Regions from separate parts of the Homo sapiens genome. Here all the other regions are linked to region 2. The links are contacts of gene promoters, found by promoter capture Hi-C in blood cells and fetal thymus (Javierre and others, 2016). All regions are on one chromosome and are shown on one strand. Each heading gives the region's core, a stretch centred on a gene start or on the middle of the fragment in contact. The rest is flanking DNA. Distances are from core to core; before and after follow the strand shown.

Region 1 (3,920 bases), core at 923-3,422, 1.1 Mb before region 2:
ACACGCACAGCAAAAAGAATAAAGAAATGTTCACATAAATGAACTCTGATCTATTAAGCACAGAAGCTTTTCATTTTAACTTTTAAAATATTTTCTATTATATATGATTCAGTTACCTAAGAGTATACTAGATATAATTTAGCTACTTCTTTATGATTCTGGAGACAGAACTATGAACCTCTGTTACTACATTTGTGCTACAATAGTGATTTCTTCCAGGGCTGTTAGAAGGAGTGAAGACTACGGCTTACACTAAATGACCCACAGACTGTAACACTGTCTGGTAGTAAGCAGATCTCTTATGAAAAGGTATATGAAACTGTGACATTTGGCCATTTTTGATCTACAGTCCAATTTCATATGATATAACCAATAATCCTTGAGGTTAGGGCTTCAGAACCTTCTTCTCCGATGTCACTGCTCCCAGTCTCCCGGGGTGGAATGTCTGCTTGCCCCATGCTGCTTCTAATATTTGTCACCACTTCTAGTGCCCACCTCATCTCTGATGCTATTTTTCTTTTTTTAAAAAAATCTTTTTTCTGTCATTTCAACATAATGTAACACATACCTCTCTACTTACACCTCAATGGTTGTGGTTTTTTTTTTTTTTTTTTTCTAATGCTGTCACTTCAGGCCAAACAATAATATCATCCTGTTGGGTACAATCAAAGGTATACTATTGGGTGAAAGAATAGTGACAGACTTTTTAACTTCCAGATTAACCTGTGTCCTGAAAAAGAGGTGTCACTGAATACAAAAGCCATCAATTATAAAAGTTAATTTATAATTTATAATTATAATTTCATTCTCCCAAAAAGCTTCTTTTAAAAAGCAGACTCCCAGTTTCGGGTTGGTATTGTCTTTAAGTCATTTATACTTTGACAGAGACAAAGTGAAACCTAATTGTTTCAAGCCATCGACACATGATCAATCAGAAAGGAAGATAAAAGATAAGATCATGGAATGTCTGAATTGTAGGATCATTTACTCATTCATTCCACTGATAATTATTGAGTGTCTACGTTGTGCCAGAATTTTCTCCGCACCTTAAAGAGGCAACCTGTGGCCTGTAGAATCGAATTATTTTTTCTAAGACATAAGTCAGGCTTTCTAAAAGGTAGCTCAGTATTTTTTCTTGTTAGAAATTATAATGTATCATTAGAAAAATAAGACTTTACTAGAATGATTAATGTGTCACTTTTATGAAGGCATGGCTTACATGCTTTCTCCTAGGCCATGCAGTACAGCAATGGATGTGATAGCATAAACAGCCAATGAGCCCTCTCTTGTGATGGAGCTCTGTCTTTAGAATCCAGGTAATTGTAGATAGAGTGTGCTGGATCTTTCCGTAGGCTCACCCTCCCTCAGCCTTGTCTGCGCCCCAGGCTCCCAGTTATGATGGAAGGTAGAAACTGACTTTCTTGTCCTTAGGATTTGGTTAGGTTCAGCCAGTGGGAGGCCCTGATTTCCCCCCTAATCTCTCCATCTCTTAGTTGGGCTCTGGGTTGGGTGTGGCTGGGTGTGACCAGGGCTTCTGCCAGGCAGCCCACTTCCGCCGCTGTTCTCTCTCCCCATATTCCCGAGCCGCTTTCCCCTCTTGCTCCTTCAGGCCTAAGATGGGAAAGGACCTCACCAGGTGCCAGATGGGAAGGCTTCATTAGCTATTGCTTGAGGTAGAATGAAGTTTTGTGGGGCATGAGGCATATGTTATTTTGAGAGTTTTCTTTAAGACAAAGAACACAAAATTCTGGCTTATAGATTTTAAGGAGAGGGCCTTGGAAGAGGCCATGTGAAAGAAGAACCCTGAAGCCTAAGGTTTTTTTTAGCCCTTCTTGGCTTCCTTAAAACCTCGCCCACACTTTGTAAATAGTCCTTCACTACTTTCCTTAATTACACAACTTGAGTGTGCTATATGTTTCCTGTGCTGGGATCCTGACTAATTCTACTGTGTGCCTAATTATGACTAACAAGTACCCCAGAAGGTTTCTCTACCTGTACTTTGAATAGTCTCCCCAACATTCTCTTTTTCTCACAAAGCTATCCGGCTGAATTAATTTGCTTTACAGTTGAGATGTATTATCCTAATTCGGCGATTTTTTTTCTTATGCATAATGTGTAATTAAAAGGAGATAGAGTAGTTTGAAATTTATAGCAAAAGTATTTCTTATTCTACCTCCTGGATTATATGCATATCCTGATTAACATAATCAAATTACTGACAAGTTAGTTCCTAACTAAAATTTAGCCAAACTGGAAAATGGAAATGTGTTCCTTGTGAAGTCATCAAATCAGTTCCTTTTTATTAACTTGTAACCCAGAAAGTACATTCCTTATGCAATTTAAAAAGAATGACTTGTGCAATAATTCATGTCAAAGATCAAGAATGGTTACTTTAAAGCACTTAAAAGCCACTGGTGAGTCTCAGAATCTAAGTACTAAAGAACCAAGGACTAAACTTCAGTTGGGTCATCCATGTATAAATGATATGATGCAGGAGATGGTGATTAAGTTGGGGGAAAGAGGGTGAAGCGGCCCTTGGAGACAACTAACACAGCCTGCCTGCCCCGACCAGGCACAGCTACAGCCAAGTCAGAGGCCCTGGGGCTGACTGGGACCCAGAAGAGAAATGAGAGCTGGAGAAGAGGAACAGACAAGCCTCTCCAACACAGCACGGACTCTAGCTAGGCTGGCTCTGAGACTTCTAGTGACCTTGAGACCTCATAACTTCAGGTCAGTTTAGCCATGTTTGTAAGTGTGGATTTAATAGTGGATTTATTTCTAGAAAATGGAACAATCTTTATCTTTCCAATTAATATACACTGCCCAGAAATGTCTTAGTTTCCTGTAGTTTCTAGTGAGAATTGTTGACTTTCTACCAACACTTTGCAAATTAAGAAGTAGATTTCACACTTCTATGATCAGAACTCAGGAATACTACTAAATGGGATCAAATCACTTATTCTCTCAAAAGTTGCACATCTATCATACAGGGTACTGAGAAATTCATGTGAAATGATACATGTGAACATCTTTTGAAAAGCACAAAGTAGCCTATGACAGTGATGGCTGGCTTTATTAACAGTGCGATATTTTGCTGATGTTTTGCTCAAGTTAAAATTATAGAAACTAAGTAAGTAACACAATGAATTTATGGTTCTCAACTGGTGAGAAGGAGATGAAAATAACAGCTTTATCAGATGTAGTTTCTAACAGAGCTAATTTGTCTGCAGAACTTGGCATATCATTGCTCATGAGCACTCATCTTTAATGTGTCATGGCTAGAATAAAGAAAACAATATAAGCCTACTCTTTTTTTAATCTCTTTTTTGCAGCTCATAAGGTATGGAGGATATGCAAACTATGCAGGGTGAACACTTTTGAATCACCCTATGTAAAACAGCACCCTCACTTTCTATGATCTATTCTCCTTTATTTTTCTTCATAGCACTTAACATTACCTGAACCATATTGCATATATATTTGTATATTTCTTTATTGCTGTGTCTGCTTACAGAACATAAGCTTCGTGAGGAACAAGAACGTTATTTTGTTCACCTGTGTCCCTACCTCTTCATCAATGCTTGGTACCAATAGGCACTTAAATATTTACCAAATGTACATATTTTCCAGAAATCCTTTATCCTCCAGCCTATCAACAATCAAGAGTCAGACAACAGTGTATCATGGAATGGACAGTGGTTTGGGGCAATCACCTATCACCGAACCTGAGTAAGCAACTTTCAGATAGAAACAAAGGCCTGTCTCTAGCCTTATTCTCTTTCTCAAATGACTCCCCAAAATCTAGTTTCTAAAATATTCCTCCTCTGGATTATTTTAAGGATAAACTGAAATGTTTGTAAAATGCCCAATACAATCTCTGGGGAAGAGAAGGGAAATGGAAAAGAAAACCATGAAATAAA
Region 2 (3,950 bases), core at 711-3,210:
TTTTTCCTCATCTGTAAAATGGTCTTTGCTATAAGGATTAAAGGAGACAACACATTGGCAAACAAAAGTGCAACTAACGTGGTCAATAGGAGGGGAAAGGGTGCTCTCCCATCTTCCCTCCCACTCCATCTCACTCCAGATGCAGACAACCTACTGCTGGGAGCCTCTTGCACTGTCTGTGCCACTACAAACCTTTACCTCTCAGGGCCCAGAGGAACTGGGCACCAGAACGGCTGACTGAAAGGGAAGAGAGGATGATACCTAGGTTTGATTTGTCCTTTGGGTACCACAATTCCCACATTTTCTTTAGGTCCTGCTAAATTGAAGTTTTCCCTGCAAATGGGTGCCCTGTAGACTCTAGAGTATCTCTACTTATTTATGAGTAGGAAGGCCGTCAGAGTGGTTAAGAATGAGCATTGGTATTGGAGAGACCTAGGTTGGAATCCTGGCTCTACTTTTTCACTTTTTGTGAAGTCCTGGGCAAAAGTCAGCCCGTTTTCCTTAACTATAAAATAGGGACATTAGTTCTAGATAGTTTCCTGATACACTGAAAAAAACACTCCATAAGCATTAATATTATCATTAGGGGGTCTGCTGGGTCAAGTGCTCCTGGGTTGCTCTTTAAAAAATCCCTCACAGTGGCAGAAGGAGGAGACAATGCCTGCCAGTCCCTGCGTCAGGTGACAGCCAGGGAAGGCACGAGGTGGGAACTGGAATTGGGACTTCTGGGCTGTAGTGGGCTATGCCCCCGTGTTTGCACAAAGTTTGTTATCAATAGCGTGAGTTCTCCCAGAATTGAGGATTCTCAGATTGCCCCAGGAGGGGGTATCTGGGATCAGATGCAGAAAATGATTATGACACATCACTATGAACAGAAATGGTGAACTAAGGGTGAGGCATGGAATTGGGACCATATCACAAAAGAGACGGAGGACACAAGTTTATAATAGTTACCATATCCACTTAGATTCCGGAGGTGAAGGACTTTCTGGTCACACCTATTCTTTCTTCCAGGACTTTTTGGAAGCCAGGGATAGAAAACACACTGGGCACACACTATACCCCTGATGGCTGGGGCTATAAAGTCTCTTCTGGGTGGTCCAGGAAGCAAGACCAGAACACATACCGCTGCTGGCCCGAGGATGATGACATGTAACTATTAAATTTTCATGGGTTTGAGGTCAAGTATCTTGTCTATTATCTTTTCTTCCCATAAACAGTAGGTGCTCAATAAACAAGCATGACAGCAGGAGAGGAAATGAGGAAAAGGCAGGATAAATAAAATACCCCTGATGAGTTCCAGGCCTCTTAATCTTGGTTCTTTCTCAATCGGTAAATATCAAATAAGGGCTCAACCGTAGTCCTGCCAACACCTCCAAAGCATCTCCATAGTCCGGATGCTAAACCACCCAGTGTCCACCAGGGGTCCTGGGATGAAGGGAGACGTGTTTCTTTCACGGTCATCATGATCGATTACTTCTTCCCTTCAAGTCCAGAGTCGCAGGCAGTGGACATAAGGCCACCTCCAGCCCTCTGCTTCCAAGGCTGGGGAGAGGCAAGGTCTCCCTTCGCCGCCGTAACCAGCCCGGGAACAGGAAGGCTGGGGAAGGTGGGGGACTCCATCAGCAAGGAAACCCTGGGGCTTCACTCTCCTACAGGCGGTCCTGCGAGCGCGGCCAAAGAGAGGCAGGGCGCTAGGGAAGGCGCGGGGACCCGGCCTCGGTGGAAGGACTTGTCCCCGGCGCAGAGGACGGGCGGGCGGCCGGGCGTGGGCGAGCGCGTAGCCGGCGTGCTCCTCCGTGCGCCCGGGCGGCGCGGGCGCGGCCGGCGATCCTGCAGAGGGAGCTGTGCGCCGGCCTTAGCGCACGCTCGGTGCCGCCCGCTCCCTCTTGCCGCCGCCGCCGCCGCTGGGCCCGCCCGCCGGGGAGGGGCTCCCGGCCTCGCAGACAGCGGCTTCCTGCTTTCTGCACGTCCTCGCCGCCGCGCCGCCAGTCCGTTTGTGCTAGCTCTGGCCGTGAGCCGGCCGCCCGCTGCCGCCGGCCGCCCCGCAGCTGCCTGCGCCCCAGCCGCGCCTCGCGGCCAGCCCGGCTAGCTCAGGTCCGCTCCCGGAGCCCGCGCCCCTCCACGCTGCCCCCTGCCTGTCCCCGGCCATGCTGTCCCTTCAGTACCCCGACGTGTACCGCGACGAGACCGCCGTAAGTATCTCTGCCTCCGCCCAGAGGGCTCCCGGGCAAAGGTGCCCAGCCTGCCTGACCCGTGGCACCCGCAGCTCCTCTTCCTGTAGGCCTTCGACCCCCGCGTCCCTCCCCTCCCCCTCGGCCTTTGTTTGGGAGAATTGGGCCGGGGGCGCGGGGCTCCTCTGCAGCGCTGGGGTCCCGCGGGCGGTCACTCTGCTAGTGCTGGCGGCGGAGCCTGTGGGCAGCGCCGCCCGGCCGCTTCCTAGAATCAATGGGGTCAAGGGCAGACGCCCGGGTAGAATGGGTGTCTTCAGGGAGTGGGAAGACAGACGGTGTCACTGCTTTTTTGACTGGCGAAGCCTCTTGCTTAAATATGGTGGTAGGAGAAAGTGTCCGCTGGGGTGTGTGTGTGTGTTTGTGTGTGTGTGTGTGTGTGTGTGTGTGTGATGTCACATTTAAAAACGAAAACAAACTTTTAAAACTTACACTTTAAAGTCCTTAGAGTTGAAGCATATTCGTTCGATTTTAAAAGGTGTGTTGAGCGCCTACCCTGTCCCAGGTCGGATGAGGCGCACTGGGCCCTGGGGATGCCAGAGACCCGGACAGAAATGGGGAAGGCGGAGCAGTGACCCCATAGTGTGGCCGTGCTGATCCATGTTTTCTTAAACAAGAAAAGGAGTTGAGAGAGGGTGAGAGGAGGTCTTAGAAGGGAGAGGGGTTGACCTTTTTCAGAATGAGTAAGTTTTGTCTAGTGGCGGAGTTGACCACCATTTGCCTAAGCTGCAGATGAACTCAAGGTAACTGTTGAGATCCAGTAGGCGGAATTCTGGGCAGACACCTTTTTTGTGTAAACGTGAATTTGACGACTTAGGAACTGGATTGCATCCACATGTTGTGGCCGTGATTCTCTTACTAATAGCTACATTTCTCAGATTACTTAAAATATAATCAGAATAAGTATGTATTTGTGTGATACAGTTTTAATGTTTTTCTGTTTACTTTCCCAATTTATGCCAGAAAGTGTTTACTTTAAAGCACGTGCTACATTGGGGTAAAGGGTGCTGACGCTTCGGAGTAAAGGACATACTGTTTTAAATTAAGACTTCCAAGTGACACTGATGCATTCATTCATGGTTTCTTTGACCAGTGGCCATCTGGTAACCATGTTTTCTCAGTCTGCTCAGCTGCTTGCTTATTAAATTTACCCTAACAGCTCAAGAAGCTCTATTCCTGTGGTTTAAAGGTTGTTTCCTTTGAATATGGGAGTAAAGTGATCCTGCTGGAATGGAGAAAGAGGCTGGACTAAATGAAAAGACCAGAGCGCTAGTTCTGGTTCTGTCATTCACTAGTTAGGTGACTTTTAGCAGCTCTTTTACCTGTTATGGGCCTTTTTTCTCATATGAGAAATATTTGGACTGACCATAGGGCTTACTTGCTTCTGCAGTAGGAATGTTGTCATTCATTCATTCATTCATGTGACAGTCTAGCTCTGCAGTGTTCCAGACTAGTAATGGGAAGCCAGGTGACTCTCTTGGTTCTGGTTCTTGAGGATCAGAATATAAAGAATTACCCATTCTGTGGTTTGATAAGTGCAGTTTTAAGTTTGTTTTTAGAGTTACTTGTTAGTTTTTCACCACTGTGGGTGCCTAAATCCTACAGTTTGTTTATTTATGTTTGATATTTCATGAAAGGTTTAAGTGAGGATTTTATGAAGACGTCTAAAAGATTATAAACAACTCGGAAGGGTATACTGTGGATTTTAATACACTCCAG
Region 3 (3,979 bases), core at 833-3,332, 1.6 Mb before region 2:
CAAATCCCTACCAAAGCACTCAGAGAACAGCAAAGTCTCTACGATGGTCTAAAGGCTCTATAGGATCTGGTGCTCCCTCAACCCCCATTTCCTCTCCAACCTCATCTGCCAATTTGACTCTTGCAAATTCAGCTTCAGCAACACTGGCATCCTCCCCTTAATTAAGCACTTACCATGTGCCAAGCACTAATCTGGGCACTAGGAATTCAGCAGAGGAAAAAAATACGAAGATTCCTATTCTTGTAGAGTTTATAGTCTAGTAGGGGAAACAGGTAGACAAAAAAAAAAACACCCTGTAAATTATATGATAGCTGGTGGTTAATGCACTGGGGGAAGAAAGTGGAGCAGGGTAAGGGGGATTGAGAGGGCAAGATGAGGTCAGGCAGGTGGCTCACGCCTATAATCCCAGCACTTTGGGAGGCCAAGGCAGGAGACTCGCTTGTGTCCAAGAGTTTGAGATCAGCCTGGGCAACACAGTGAGATCTAAAATAAAAATAGTATGGGCGCGGTGGCTCATGCCTGTAATTCCAGTACTTGGGGAGGCTGAGGCGGGCGGATCACTTGAGGCCAGGAGTTCAAGACCAGCCTGGTCAACATGGTGAAACCTCGTCTCTACTAAAAATACAAAAATTAGCCAAGCGTGGTGGTGCACACCTGTAGTCACAGCTATTTGGGAGGCTGAGGCTGAAGAATCGCTTGAACCTGGGAGGGGGAGGCTGCAGTGAGCCGAGTTCACACCAGTGCATTCTAGCCTCGGCGACAGAGCGAGTGTCAAAAAAAAAAACAACAAAACAGGCCGGGCGCGGTGGCTCACGCCTGTAATCCCAGCACTGTCGGAGGCTTAGGCGTGCGGATCAGGAAGTCAGGAAATCGAGACCATCCTGGCTAACACGGTGAAACCCCGTCTCTACTAAAAATACAAAAAATTAGCCGGGCGTGGTGGCAGGCGCCTGTAGTCCCAGCTACTCGGGAGGCTGAGGCGGGAGAATGGCGTGAACCCGGGAGGCGGAGCTTGCAGTGAGCAGAGATCGCGCCACTGCACTCCAGCCTGGGCGACAGAGCGAGACTGCGTCTCAAAAAAAAAAAAAATAGCCGGGTGTGGCGGTGTGCGCCTGTAGTCCCAGCTGCTGGGGAGGCTGAGGCAGGAGAATGGCGTGAACCTGGGAGGCGGAGCTTGCAGTGAGCCGAGATCCCGCCATTGCACTCCAGCCTGGGCGACAGAGCAAGACTCCGTCTCAAAAAAACAAAACAAAACAAAACAAAACAACACCCTGTGGAATAAAAATTGATCAGGAGGACGGGTGCATTCGAATGAATCAGGAAAAGAACACGCAATGATGGACCCTGGGAAGTGACCTGATGGAAGTTCATTTTAAAAGATCTCTTTGGCGTTGGTGTGGGATGAGTGGAGAGATGATCACGGCAGAATCCCATAGGAGGTTTTGGGTGACATCTTCAGGAGAGGTATACAATCTGAACTAACCGAAGACTGTAAGAAAAGCAGTGTCTGTAAAAAAAGCAGCGCTGACTTTGACCTGCTTGACGCCAGGAAACGCTCCACATTCCTGAGCCCGTTCACCGCTCCGTAAGATGGAGAAACTGGTCTAAACGCTTTGAAGTCTAATGCAGCTAAAGATCCTTCCCTTTACTTGGAGACCTCGGAGGCTGTGGGCTGAGACAGGGTCGGATTCCTCTCGCTCCCTCCCCACCCCCGCGGGCAGTGCACCTTCCTGGGTCCCCAAGGTCAAAGGAAATGGACAACTGCGTCCCCGGGTTCGCAGTCTGCATTCGGAGCCAGCAGGAGCGACAGGAGGCAGGAACGGAAGGCTTCGCCGCGCTCAATTACCACAGTCCCTGCGCAGCCCTGAGCTCGCGGGGCGTCCCGAGGCTGGCAGGACACGGGACACTCACGGGGAGACCCGGCGGGAGCGTGGGCGGGGCGGAGAGGCGAAGTGACAGGGGGCGCGGGCAGGGGGCCCGGCGCGGCGCGCCAGCAGAGGCGCACTCACCTGTACGTCAGGCCCTCTCGTCCCTCCCCGCGGCCGCGCGGACTGCAGGCCTCCAGGCTACCCCTATCTGCGCCCCGCCCCTTCCGCCGGCGCCGGCGCAGTGAGAGCGGGTCGGGCGGGGCGCGAGGCCAGGGCGGCAGCGAAGCAGCGACCCCTGCTGGAGGCCGCGTCTTGGAGGACTGCGCGGGAAGTAGGCTCGGGGCACACCATTCTCCCGGGTTCACGCCATTCTCCTGCCTCAGCCTCCTGAGTAGCTGGGACTACAGGCGCCCACCACCACGCCCGGCTAATTTTTTTGTGTTTTTAGCAGAGACAGGGTTTCACCGTTTTAGCCAGGATGGTCTCGATCTCCCGCCCTCGTGATCCGCTCTCCTCGGCCTCCCAAAGTGCTGGGATTACAGGCGTGAGCCACCGCGCCCGGCCATCTTAATTCTTTTTTCTTTTTTTTTTTTTTTTGAAACCGAGTCTCACTCTTGCCCAGGCTGGAGTGCAGCGGCGTAATCTCAGCTCACTGCGACCTCCGCCTCCCGGGTTCAAGCGATTGTCGTTCCTCAGTCTCCTAAGTAGCTGGGACTACAGGCGTGAGCCACCATGACCGGCTAATCATCTTAATTATTAATGAAGTGATCCTTTCTCTGGGACCACTAACCCCTTTGAACATTTTTTTTTTTGACAGGGTCTCACTCTGTTGCCCGGAGTGCAATGGTGCGATCTCGGCTCACTGCAACCTCTGCTACCCAGGCTCAAGCTGTTCTCCCCACCTCAGCCTCCCCAGTACCTGGGACTCCAGGTGTGTGCCACCACGGCCTGCTAATTTTTGTTTTGTTTTGTTTTGTTTGTAGAGATGGGGTTTCGCCATATTGCCCAGGCTGGGACTCAAGAGAAGCGATCTTCCAGCCTCAGCCTCTTAAAGTGCTGGGATTACAGGTGTAAGCCACCGAGCCCGCCCTCTTTGAACATCTCCAAGAGATATAGGCGTTGTTTCCAGAAAAATGTGCAAATACGTCAGACTCGCAGTTTAAGGAAACATCTTTTCAAGACCAACGCAATTTACACGTGAGCCAATTCCCCTTTCCCTCCCAACCAACTATCCATCCATTCGTCCATCCATCCATCCATCCATCCATCCATCCCTCTCTCATTAGGTCTGTCTGTGGAGAACTCTGACTCATACACCAAACAAGATGTCACCCTGCAACATTCTAACAAAACTTCTAGTCAAAGTCACAGATGACCTCTGCAATGTAAATCCAAAGGTCTGGTCTCATTCCTCAACTTACTTGAGTTATAGGATACCCCATTGGTTTCACCTACCTCACTTGCCACTTAATCTTCTTCCCTGTTTTTTCTTTTGTTTTGTTTTGTTTTTTTGTTTTTGAGAATGAGGCCTGCTCTGGCCCCCAGGCTGGTGTGCAATGGCATGATCTCTGCTCACTGCAACCTTCACTCTCGGGTTCAAGCGATTCTCCTGCCTCAGCCTCCTTAGTAGTTGGGACTACAGGTACGCACCACCATGCCCGGCTAATTTTTGTAGTTTTAATAGAGACAGGGTTTCACCAATATTGGCCAGGCTTGTCTCAAACTCCTGACCTCAAGTGATCCACCTGCCTTGGCATCTCAAAGTGCTGGGATTACAGGCATGAGCCACCACTCCCAGCCAGCTGTTTTTTCATTACATCCTTAGAATGCCAAAGAGTAAGTGCCCCATACTTAGACCTCTAATCTTTTTCCTTTTTATCTATCCTAGTTCCCCAGTCGATCTCCAACAATTTCGTGGCTTTAAATATTATCTATATATGGACGATCCTCAAATTTGTATTGCGAGCCGAGATCATTCTCTTGCATTCAAGACTACAACTGCCTACTTAACATCTTCACTTGGAAATCTAACGGAAATCTCAAACTTGATAGGACCAAAACCCAGATCCGGGTCTCAATGCGTTCCTCCCACAGCATTCCTTATTTCAGTT

Evidence for each region. Contacts are between HindIII fragments. The CHiCAGO score rates a contact against its expected background, and 5 or more counts as called.
Region 1: a contact is called between a fragment that was not itself captured here and the fragment with the promoter of PREP in region 2, in 1 of 17 cell types (activated CD4 T cells). The highest score is 5.1, in activated CD4 T cells.
Region 3: the fragment with the promoter of MTRES1 here is called in contact with the fragment with the promoter of PREP in region 2 in 1 of 17 cell types (activated CD4 T cells); the score reaches 5.1 in activated CD4 T cells.

The regions. Positions count from the first base shown.
Region 1 is chr6:106,500,725-106,504,644 of GRCh38, reverse strand. The region is part of intron 2 of CRYBG1 (crystallin beta-gamma domain containing 1); the gene reads right to left. It overlaps LOC101927405 (a long non-coding RNA gene), which reads left to right and starts at 2,424. Exons shown (of 3, transcript XR_245566.4): 1 at 2,424-2,730; 2 at 3,631-3,729. The HindIII fragment of the contact is 2,704 bases long and covers 821-3,524 here.
Region 2 is chr6:105,401,092-105,405,041 of GRCh38, reverse strand. PREP (prolyl endopeptidase) reads left to right here and starts at 1,960. Exons shown (of 15, transcript NM_002726.5): 1 at 1,960-2,195. The coding sequence starts at 2,151. RefSeq lists a silencer at 1,683-2,252. The HindIII fragment of the contact is 7,847 bases long and covers 1-3,950 here.
Region 3 is chr6:107,026,302-107,030,280 of GRCh38, reverse strand. MTRES1 (mitochondrial transcription rescue factor 1) reads right to left here and starts at 2,082. Exons shown (of 4, transcript NM_016487.5): 1 at 2,010-2,082. RefSeq lists enhancers at 1,364-1,463, 1,574-1,683 and a silencer at 1,794-2,263. The HindIII fragment of the contact is 13,635 bases long and covers 1-3,979 here.